Regions from separate parts of the Homo sapiens genome. Here region 2 is linked to region 1. The links are contacts of gene promoters, found by promoter capture Hi-C in blood cells and fetal thymus (Javierre and others, 2016). All regions are on one chromosome and are shown on one strand. Each heading gives the region's core, a stretch centred on a gene start or on the middle of the fragment in contact. The rest is flanking DNA. Distances are from core to core; before and after follow the strand shown. Region 1 holds the start of CD1A (CD1a molecule). Region 2 has its middle 21 kb from the start of OR6Y1.

Evidence for each region. The method cuts DNA at HindIII sites, captures the fragments that hold promoters and counts their contacts. A CHiCAGO score of 5 or more calls a contact.
Region 2: a fragment that was not itself captured here is called in contact with the fragment with the promoter of CD1A in region 1 in 1 of 17 cell types (fetal thymus); the score reaches 5.4 in fetal thymus.

Annotation. Positions count from the first base shown.
Region 1 is chr1:158,252,993-158,258,039 of GRCh38, forward strand. CD1A (CD1a molecule) reads left to right here and starts at 1,432. Exons shown (of 6, transcript NM_001763.3): 1 at 1,432-1,735; 2 at 2,092-2,358; 3 at 3,012-3,290; 4 at 3,794-4,072; 5 at 4,429-4,519; 6 at 4,689-5,047. The coding sequence starts at 1,678. The coding sequence ends at 4,698. The HindIII fragment of the contact is 5,152 bases long and covers 1-3,070 here.
Region 2 is chr1:158,530,343-158,535,826 of GRCh38, forward strand. No RefSeq gene overlaps it. Among named protein-coding and RNA genes, the nearest start is that of OR6Y1, 21 kb to the right of the region's middle. The HindIII fragment of the contact is 7,233 bases long and covers 1-5,331 here.

The DNA.
Region 1 (5,047 bases), core at 182-2,681:
AGGCTGACACAGGAGGATTGCTTGAGGCCGGGAGTTGGAGGTTACAGTGAGCTATGATTATTCCACTGCACTCCAGCCTGAGTAACAGAGTGAAACCCTGTCTCAAGAAAAAAAATTTTTTCCCCCTAAATTAGCTTCAGATACTTTTTTTTTGAAAACCAAAAAATAGTAAATAGCCCAGACACATTTATATGGATGATATCTACAAAGCACAAACATATATTTAGAAGCCCTTCAACAGTTACAAGCAGCGTAAAAGAGGAATGTAAATGTGTCCGGCAAAGACTCATTTATAACAAAACAACCCTGAAACATCCAAATAGGACTAATAAAAAGGGATCCTGGGATAAAGACTTTGGAATACTCCATTAACTTCACTGCTCACAAGTTCTGACTAGTTTCTTATAAGTAATAGGACATTTATAGCAGGATCTTTTATGTAAATCTCATGCCAGTAACTTGTACTTTTATCCTAAATAAAACTGTATGAGATTCTCATCTCACTACATAGGGTTACAAGTAACTTTTATGATATCTTTAAAAAGTTTCATGTTGAATATCACCTCCATAATTAAAAAATGGATGCATAGACTGAATTCATTCATTCATTTGACAAATATTCACTAAGCACCTACCACTTGTGAGATACTCTGTTAGGTGGGGATACAGTATGATAACTGTATGGAACTAACACTCCAAGTCAAACATTGAAGTCAAAATTCTGGGCTGGCGTACATTAGTTAGGAGCCCCCATTTTAGAAAATATTATTTCAAGCAGGCCTTGTTTTTATCCAGAGAGTGTATACAGTATAATAAAACTCAGTACACCAAGATTTATATTTCATGGCGTGTTTTTCTCCCTAAGTAGAGAAAAAGCTCCTTCAGTAAAGTGATTGTGTTGTCAACCACTGCATATTCTTAAGTGTACCAAGATGCTTGACTCCAGGCAGGTGCTAAGAGAGACTGTTGGGTGAGTGAATGTATATCAATGAAAATCAAACAGAGGAAATTTTCTTTATATGTTTTAGTGTTCCTGTGGTTTTTTTTTTTTTTTTTTTTTTTTTTTTTTTTTTTTTTTTTGTGATGGTTACTGGCTCTTCTCTAAGAATAATGGAGAAAAGGTGTTAGTTTGTACTGTCGCACAGGGCAGTCGTAGGAGACTCTGAAAAAGCAAATAAATCAATGTTAAATCAGAAATGTGAATGTAGTAAGGGGCTGAAGAGACAGGGGAAGAGAATACATGGGAAAATATTGAAAAGGACAGAGTGATCAAAAAGAGCAGGGACATGGGAGCATTGGGCAGCACACTGGGAGCCATTTCACTTTATGCTCTTATTGTATGATTGAGAAAAAAATGTCCTTAGTGGTTAAGTGGCTTTTCAATGCCACATCAGACTTGTTCCATAGCAGTTGAATTAGGGGAAGGTGAATAAGTTGGAGGTTGGTGACAAGGAGAGAAGCTGGAACAGAGAGGAGAGTCAGAACCAGAGGGAAATGAGAGACTGAGTAGGCATCTCAGGGTTTTTGAAGGAGTGGATTTTCTTTGTTGCAGTCAGGGGAGGTTTGTCTGTTGGCTGCAGAAAGAAGTCAGAATAGAGATATCGTGGGGTAGGTTTGTTTGGAACAGAAATCAAAGACCAATTTTTCTGAGAGAAGGAAATAACATCTGCAAATGATATGCTGTTTTTGCTACTTCCATTGTTAGCTGTTCTCCCAGGTGATGGCAATGCAGACGGTAAGAACTCTGACAACTGCCCAGTTGGGTGGTGGGTGAAGGTCTCTCTCTCTCTCTCTGTGTGTGTGTGTGTGTGTGTGTGTGTGTGTGTGTGTGTGTGTGTGTGGTTTCCCTAGCATATACCTGGAAAGTGAGAGTGCCAGGCTGGTTCCATTCTGACTATCCATGACTCCAGGTCCCTGAGCTCTTATGAAGGTGGTTGATAAGGCATGGGACTGTGTGGCAAGTGAATGTCTGCTAAGATCATGATGGATCCCCTTTTCTCCAGATTCTGAGTTCCCGCACTCTGGCACCTTTCTCTCTCCATCCTCTTTCTCAATGTCTTTCTCCCCATTCTATCTGTTCTTTTGTCGCAGGGCTCAAGGAGCCTCTCTCCTTCCATGTCACCTGGATCGCATCCTTTTACAACCATTCCTGGAAACAAAATCTGGTCTCAGGTTGGCTGAGTGATTTGCAGACTCATACCTGGGACAGCAATTCCAGCACCATCGTTTTCCTGTGCCCCTGGTCCAGGGGAAACTTCAGCAATGAGGAGTGGAAGGAACTGGAAACATTATTCCGTATACGCACCATTCGGTCATTTGAGGGAATTCGTAGATACGCCCATGAATTGCAGTTTGAATGTGAGTTCAGTTTTCTCCATGGAGAGTGGTGAGGTGGGAGAGAGGGGTTGTCTCAATGTTTCTTATTCCTTTAGGAAACAGCCTGACTCTCTTCTGTATCTTATTCTATTCTTTCCACCATAAAACTGCAATTGCATACTTTTGGGCAAGGGCTATCATCCAGACCTTAATTCTCCAAACACTTCTGCTACTTATGAACTCCTCTCTCATTGATTGCAGGGTTGTGCATTATTATCTTTTCTTACAGGTATCCCAGGACCACCCTTCTGCCTGCCCTACAACCAGATACCTTCAGCTTTCTCACTTTCTCATTCATTCTCTTCAGCAGTCTCTCTATATATACTCAATTGTAACCCATTGCATTTAATTCAACCTAAGTTGTTATAATCCCAGTTCTCTTACACCAGGTCCTTGCTCACCCACAGCATTCACATCACCTTCTTTGACCAGTTTGCCCTCTTCCTCATGTTATTAATCTTTTCCTCCACCTACAGCTCCCACCAATTCCTCTTTCTCTGAATCCCTGACCAAACCAAATTTTATTCCATTATGTCAAACCCTGCACACTTCCCCCTTCTGCTTCTATAATCTTTGCTTCTACTCATTTCATTTTATATTTTTTTCTCCCTCTTTCCTCTATTTCATAACCCCAGATCCTTTTGAGATACAGGTGACAGGAGGCTGTGAGCTGCACTCTGGAAAGGTCTCAGGAAGCTTCTTGCAGTTAGCTTATCAAGGATCAGACTTTGTGAGCTTCCAGAACAATTCATGGTTGCCATATCCAGTGGCTGGGAATATGGCCAAGCATTTCTGCAAAGTGCTCAATCAGAATCAGCATGAAAATGACATAACACACAATCTTCTCAGTGACACCTGCCCACGTTTCATCTTGGGTCTTCTTGATGCAGGAAAGGCACATCTCCAGCGGCAAGGTCAGTCCTGCACTCTCCCTCCAAGAAGTTTTGATTTGAAAATCATACCCTTCCACCACCTCCTTCCAATTTAGAATAAGGAAGAGCCACCCAGAAGTGGGAAAGGCTGGGTGCAGTGCCTCACATCTGTAATCCCAGTACTTTGGGAAGCTGAGGCTGGAGGACTTCTTAAGGGCAGGAGTCCCAGACCAGCCTGAGCAACAGAGTGAGACCAGTGTCTCTAAAAAATAAAAATAAGTTAGCCAGTCATGGTGGTACACACCTGTAGTCCCAGTTACTTAAGAGGCTGAGGCAGGAGGATCGCTTGAGCCTAACAGTTTGAGGTTACAGTGAGCTATAATTTATAATTATGCCACTGCATTGCAGCATAGTGACAGAGTGAGACCCTGTCTCAAAAAAAAAAAAAAGAGAAATGGGAACAATGTGTCTATCTAAACTTCTAAACTGTTGTGGAGATATGAAACTCCAAGTCTGTATTTGAATATCTTTTCTGTCCTTTGCAGTGAAGCCCGAGGCCTGGCTGTCCCATGGCCCCAGTCCTGGCCCTGGCCATCTGCAGCTTGTGTGCCATGTCTCAGGATTCTACCCAAAGCCCGTGTGGGTGATGTGGATGCGGGGTGAGCAGGAGCAGCAGGGCACTCAGCGAGGGGACATCTTGCCCAGTGCTGATGGGACATGGTATCTCCGCGCAACCCTGGAGGTGGCCGCTGGGGAGGCAGCTGACCTGTCCTGTCGGGTGAAGCACAGCAGTCTAGAGGGCCAGGACATCGTCCTCTACTGGGGTGAGAAAAAGCTAAGGCCCAGGCTGGAAATGCCAGGAAGTGGACCTCAGGCATAGAGGGAGGGCAAGCTGAAAATTTTAGGATTTTAGGGATTATAGCCCAAACATGAATAAAAATAGATAATCTAAGAAATGGAAATGTTGAAAATGAGGGCCCTGTAGATGCAGGAGGATGCTGAGGGTTAACTGAAGAATCCATCTCTGAGCAGGGATGAGAGAAAAACATAGAAAAAAAGGAGATTGGTAAGTTGGATACTCAAATGAAAAAAAGAAGCCCAGGGAATGCAGTGAAATAGGGAGTGGATGAGGTAAAATGGGATGGATTATAACATCCTTGGTGTCTCCCCAAATTCACAGAGCATCACAGTTCCGTGGGCTTCATCATCTTGGCGGTGATAGTGCCTTTACTTCTTCTGATAGGTCTTGCGCTTTGGTTCAGGAAACGCTGGTGAGTTCTTTGCATGTGTCTTTCCTACTCTTAGCCTCTACCCCACTTTTCTTCCCATGTTTTTTGTTTTTCTCTCCTCAGTTCTTCTCTCCCCAGTCCCCTTCCCTCTTGCTCCTCAATTCTCAGCTCCACCTTATTCAGAGTGACTTCTATCTCTGTTCTCATCCAGTTTCTGTTAAGACACACCATGAGCCTCCTCGTCACCCTTCTCCTTTTGGGGTGAGAGACCAGCAGCCCAAGGGCTCCAGACACACCTGAACACATCGTGATGATGACGTCCTCTCAACTCTCTTTGTAAAAATTTTGTTATTTTTGCTTGTTTCTGATTAATGATTGTTTGTCAATATAAGCTCAATTTAATTTTGCAGGATTTGTTGTTCTGACCTGGGTTCTGGGACTTTTAAATTCAAATTTTATCTCCAGATGGAATGGGGTCCTAGCAACCTCCACATGTTCAACTATTAATGGATCATCAGGCCTGTTTTAGATATCCCTTACTCCAGAGGGCCTTCCCTGACTTACAAGTGG
Region 2 (5,484 bases), core at 465-2,964, 280 kb after region 1:
AAAAGCCAGCAACCACCACCATCACCACCACCACCAACAAAAGCCCTAGACCAGATAGAATCACAGCAGAATTCTAATAGACATACAAAGAGAAGCTGGTACCAATGCTACTGAAAATATTCCAAAAAATTGAGGAGGAGGGACTTTATTCCGACTCATTCTATTAAGCAAGCAACATACTCATACCAAAGCCTGGCAAATACACAACAAAATAAGAAAACTGCAGACCAATATCCCTGATGAACACAAATGTAATAATCCTCAAGAAAATACCAGCAAAGCAAATTCAGCAGCATATCAAAAATTTAATTCACCATGATCACATAGGTTTTATTCCTGGAATGCAAGTTTAGTTCAACATATGTAAATTAATAAATGTTATTTACCACATAAGCAGGATTAAAGACAAAAACCATATGACAATCTCAATTGATGCAGAAAAAGCATACAAAATTATACCATGTCCCTTCATGATAAAAACCCTCTACAAGCTAGGCATCAAACGAACATACCTTAAAATAGTAAGAGCCATCTATGACAATCCCATGGCCAACATCATACTGAATGGGCAAAAGCTGAAAGCATACTCCCTGAAAATCAGAACAAGACAAAGATACCCTCTCTCACCACTTGTATTCAATACAGTACTGGAAGTCCTGGTCATACTAATTAGGCAAGAGAAAGAAATAAAAGGCATCCAAAAAAAAAAAAAAAGAGAGAGTAAGTCAAACATCCTGCAGAGGATATGATTCTATATCTAGGATATAAACTCTATAGCTTCTGCCTAAAGACTCTGGAACTGATTAAAAATGTCAATAAAGTTTCAGGCTACAAAACAATTTACATTTCTCAGAGGATATACCCAATGATAGAACTGCTGGGTTGAATGGTAGTTGTAGTTTCCTTAAGAAATCTCAGGCCGGGCGCAGTGGCTCACGCCTGTAATTCCAGCACTTTGGGAGGCCGAGACGGGTGGATCACCTGAGGTCGGGAGTTCGAGACCAGCCTAACCAACATGGAGAAACCCCATCTCTACTAAAAATACAAAATTAGCTGGGCTTGGTGGCACATGTCTGTAATCCCAGCTACTTGGGAGGCTGAGGCAGGAGAATCACTTGATCCTGGGAGGCGGAGGTTTTGGTGAGACAAGATCATGCCATTGCACTCCAGCCTGGCCAACAAGAGTGAAACTCCGTCTCTAAAAAAAAAAAAAAAAAGGAAACCTCTACACTGGTTTCCACAATGGCTGAACTAATTGACATTCCCCCCAGCAGTGTATAAGCATTCCCTTTTCTTCTCAATCTTGCTGGCATTCATTATTTTTTAAACTTTTTAATAATAGCCATTTCAACTGGTGTGAGATGGTATCTCATTGTGGTTTTGATTTGGCTTTCTCTGATGTTTAGAGATATTGAGCATTTTTTCATATGCTTGTTGGCCATATGTATGTCTTCTTTTGAAAAGTGTCTGTTTATGTCCTTTTTGACCTTTTAGTGAGGTTGTTTTTTGCTCCTTTAATTGTTTAAGTTTGTTGTAGATTTTGGATATTAGACCTTTGTCAGATGCATAATTTGAAAATCTTTTCTACCATTCTGTAGGTTGCTTATTTACTCTGTTGATAATTTCTGTTGCTGTGCAAAAGTTCTTTAGTTTAATCAGTACCCACTTTTCAATTTTTGTGTTTGTTGCAATTAATTTGGGAGACATAGTCATAAATTCTTTGCCACGGCTAATGTCCAGAATGGTATTTCCTAGGTTTTCTCCTAGGATTTTTATAGTTTGAGGTCTCACATGTAAGTCCTTAACCCATCTTGAGTTAATATGTGTTTATTGTAATAAATCGAGGTCCAGTTTTTTTCTTCTTCATATGGCTATCCATTTGTCCCAGCACCATTTATTGAATAGGGAGTTCTTTCCCTATTGTTTATTTTTGTCAACTTTGTCAAAAAAGAGATGGTTGTAGATATGTGGCTTTATTTCTGGGTTATCTGTTATGTTCTGTGAGGCTGTGTTTTTGTATCAGAATCGTGCTGTTTTGGTTACTGTAGCCTTGTTGCATAAATTGAAGTCTGGTAATGTGAGGCTTCTGGCTTTGTTATTTTTGTTTAGGATTGTTTTGTCTACTCAGGTTTTTTTTTAGTTTCATATGAATATTAGAGTAGTTTTTTAAAAAAAACCGTTTATTTTAAGTTCTGGAGCACATGTGCAGGTGTAGGCTTGTAATATAAGTAAACTTGTGTCACGGTGATTTGTTGTACAGATTATTTTTTCACCCAGGTATTAAGCATAGTACCCATTAGTTATTTTTCCTGATCCTCTCCCTCTTCCCCTTCTGCACCCTTCAATAGGACCCAGTGTGTGTTGGTCCCCTCTGTGTGTCCATGTGTTCTCATCATTTAGCTCCCACTTGTAAGTGAGAACATGTGGGATTTGGTTTTCTGTTCCTGAATTAGTTTGCTAAAGGTGATGGCCTCCAGCTCCATCAATGTTTCTGCAAAGAATACGATCTCATTTTTTTATAGCTGCATAGAATTCCACAGTGTATATGTACCACATTTTCTTTATCCAGTTTACCACTGATGGACATTTAGGTTAATTTCATGTGTTTGCTATTGTGAATAATGCTGCAATGAACATATGCATGCATGTGTCTTTATAATAGAATGATTTGTATTCCTTTGGGTATATATCCAGTAATGGGATTGCTGGGTCAAATGGTATTTCTGTTTTTAGGTCTTTGAGGAAATCACTACACTGTCTTTGGTTACATTGGTTTTGCATCAAAAACTATCAATTTGGAGTTCTTTAGCCAGGAGAAATATCTTCAAAAATTGAGATGAAATAAACTCTTGTTCAGACTGTCCAAAGCTGGGAAAATGTATCACTAGCATACTTTTACCACCAGTAAATACTATATATAGCTTCAGGTATATAAAAAGTTATCAGATGAAAATTTGCATCTACACAAAAATATGATGAGAAAATAACATGCTAGATAGAAGTGTAAATATAAAATTCATTTTCTTTCATTTAAAAAACCTTTGAAAGATAATTGATGGCTTAAAGCAAAAATAATAATAAAGAATTGTATGTTTAGAATAGTTGAAGTAAAATATGTAGCAATAATAGTATAAATAATAGGTAATAAGGATTTTCATTATATATTAAATTATATAATATATGAATGGTGACAGTTATATATTATACATCATATCTAGATCTATGTTAGCTAATGAAGTAATCTTTAGCTATATGTATTTACTTTCAAATTAATTATGATTCAATAAATGTAAAAGTTCAGTACCCTGTTTATATTACCTACATTTTAATGTTTAATTAATAGTCACATGTTGTTGACATTGTATTGGATTGAACAGACATGGAATATTTCCATTATCCCAGAAAGTTGCCCTAAACAAACATTAGTAAGCCAAAAGTGAGGTAAGTGGAAACATTAAAAGAATACTTAATTAATGCTTTTAAGAAGGCGGTAAAAAGAAAAAAATAGTTTAAGAGAAGATGTTGTCAGATTGGATTAAAAACTAAGACCAACTTATACATAACCTATAAGGATGGTATAAGTCTAGAAGAATCTTAGGAGAAAATTTTTGTGACCTTAGACAAAGATCTTTTAATCACAGATGTTAAAAGACGAATTCAATACATTATACTTTAAGAAAATTAAAAACATTTGCTCTTCAAAAGGCCTTTTAAGGAAACAGATAAAGACTACTAAGTCAAAAAAATTAGCAAAACATATAACTGACAAATACTTTCATTGTAATGCAAGAATAATTCAAATACTTAAAAAGAAATAAATCCAATTTAAAAATGGGCAAAATATTTGATTAGATCTCAACAAAGAAGTTTTACAAATTGAAAATAAATAAAAAGATGTTAAACCTCAATAGTCCTTAGGGAAATGCAAGTTAAAATCAACAAGATACCACTATATGCCCTCTAAAATTATCACATCAAAAGACTGACATTATTAATAATTTGTGAAGTTATAGATCAATGGAAATTCTCACAGATTGTTTGTTGGAATGTAAAATCATTCAGCCACTTAGGAAAGTTTTCCAATTTTGCAAAACTTAAGCATAAAATTTCATATTTTCCACTTATAATCTCCCCAACCCAACCCTCATCTCCTAAAGAGAAACAAAAGTCTGTGTTCACAAGAAAACTTGAACATTCATAGCAGCTTTATTACTAATAGTCCAATGTTGGGAAAAAGGCTTATGGGGTGGCTGTATAAACTGGCCATAAAAATATGGGACAATAAGTTGCGGAAAGCCACAGGAGGCCTCTGAGGAGGAAAGCCTCCTTATTGCCGTCACATTCCCTTGACCAGAGCGTGACCTGCTCTCTTATCTATAAACACTGTGCTCAAGGAGAGACACTCCTTTGAAGCATTGGAGTGTGGCCAGATATGCCGGCTCCTAGTTAAGCCCACTCCTCACAGCTGCTCTCCGGTAAGTTAAAGAATAAATCAGTAGTTAAGTTTATGTTGCTTCAGCACAAAAAAAAATTTACCTAAACCACCACTGCTATAGATTAGGTGTATGACACACCGTCTCCCTTTCACCGTTTCACCCCTAAACATCTGCTTCTTAGATCTAAGTGATTGTACTCAATAAATATATTGTGTGGAGACTAGAGCTTGGCGCCTTTGCAGCCTCCAAAAGTGCATTGAACCCCTGGCGCCCCACTCTTTTTGTATTCTCAACCTGTCTCTTCTCATTCCTTCGTCCTCACCAAACTTCGGATACCCTACGGGTGGTGAGGCTGATCCCCAACAGTCCAAACTAAAAATCACCCAGATTTCTATTAACTGATGAATAGAAAAACAATTGTGTTACATCCATATGATGGAATGTCACTCAGTAATTCCATGTAACTGATGCGTGAAACAAAGTGGAAGATAGTCTCAAAGACATTATGGTAAGGGAAAGTAGCCTGACACATAAGACTACATATTGGATGATTCCATTTATGTGAACTGGTATACAAGGCAAAGCTAAAGGAGCAGAAAGAATATTAATTGCTGGTGACTAAGGGTAGGGGGATGGGTAGGAGATTTGATGTTAAGGGGCATGAAGACACTTTATGGGTTGATGAAAATGTCCTAATGAACAAAAACATTCATATTAATTGTTTTTGCTGAAGAATATACCCATTTTCAAAATTCGTTGAACAGTACCCTTAAAAAGGTGAATTTCATTGAATGGAATTACCCTAAAAACATATTTTTAAAAAGGTATTGTAATATCAATGAGAAAGAAGTGAAAAGTAATTTCTAGTGAAAGCTCTGATGAGGAAATATAGAAAAGCTTCTCTTTTAATGCTTAAAATCTTGAAAATATAATGATGTACTTTCTTAATTTTTATTGGTGTTTCCTGAAGCTTGGGCCATTCATTGACTTTGAACTTTCTCATCTACAAATGAGTCAATTATAATTAGATGGTGAGTTTATTTTAATG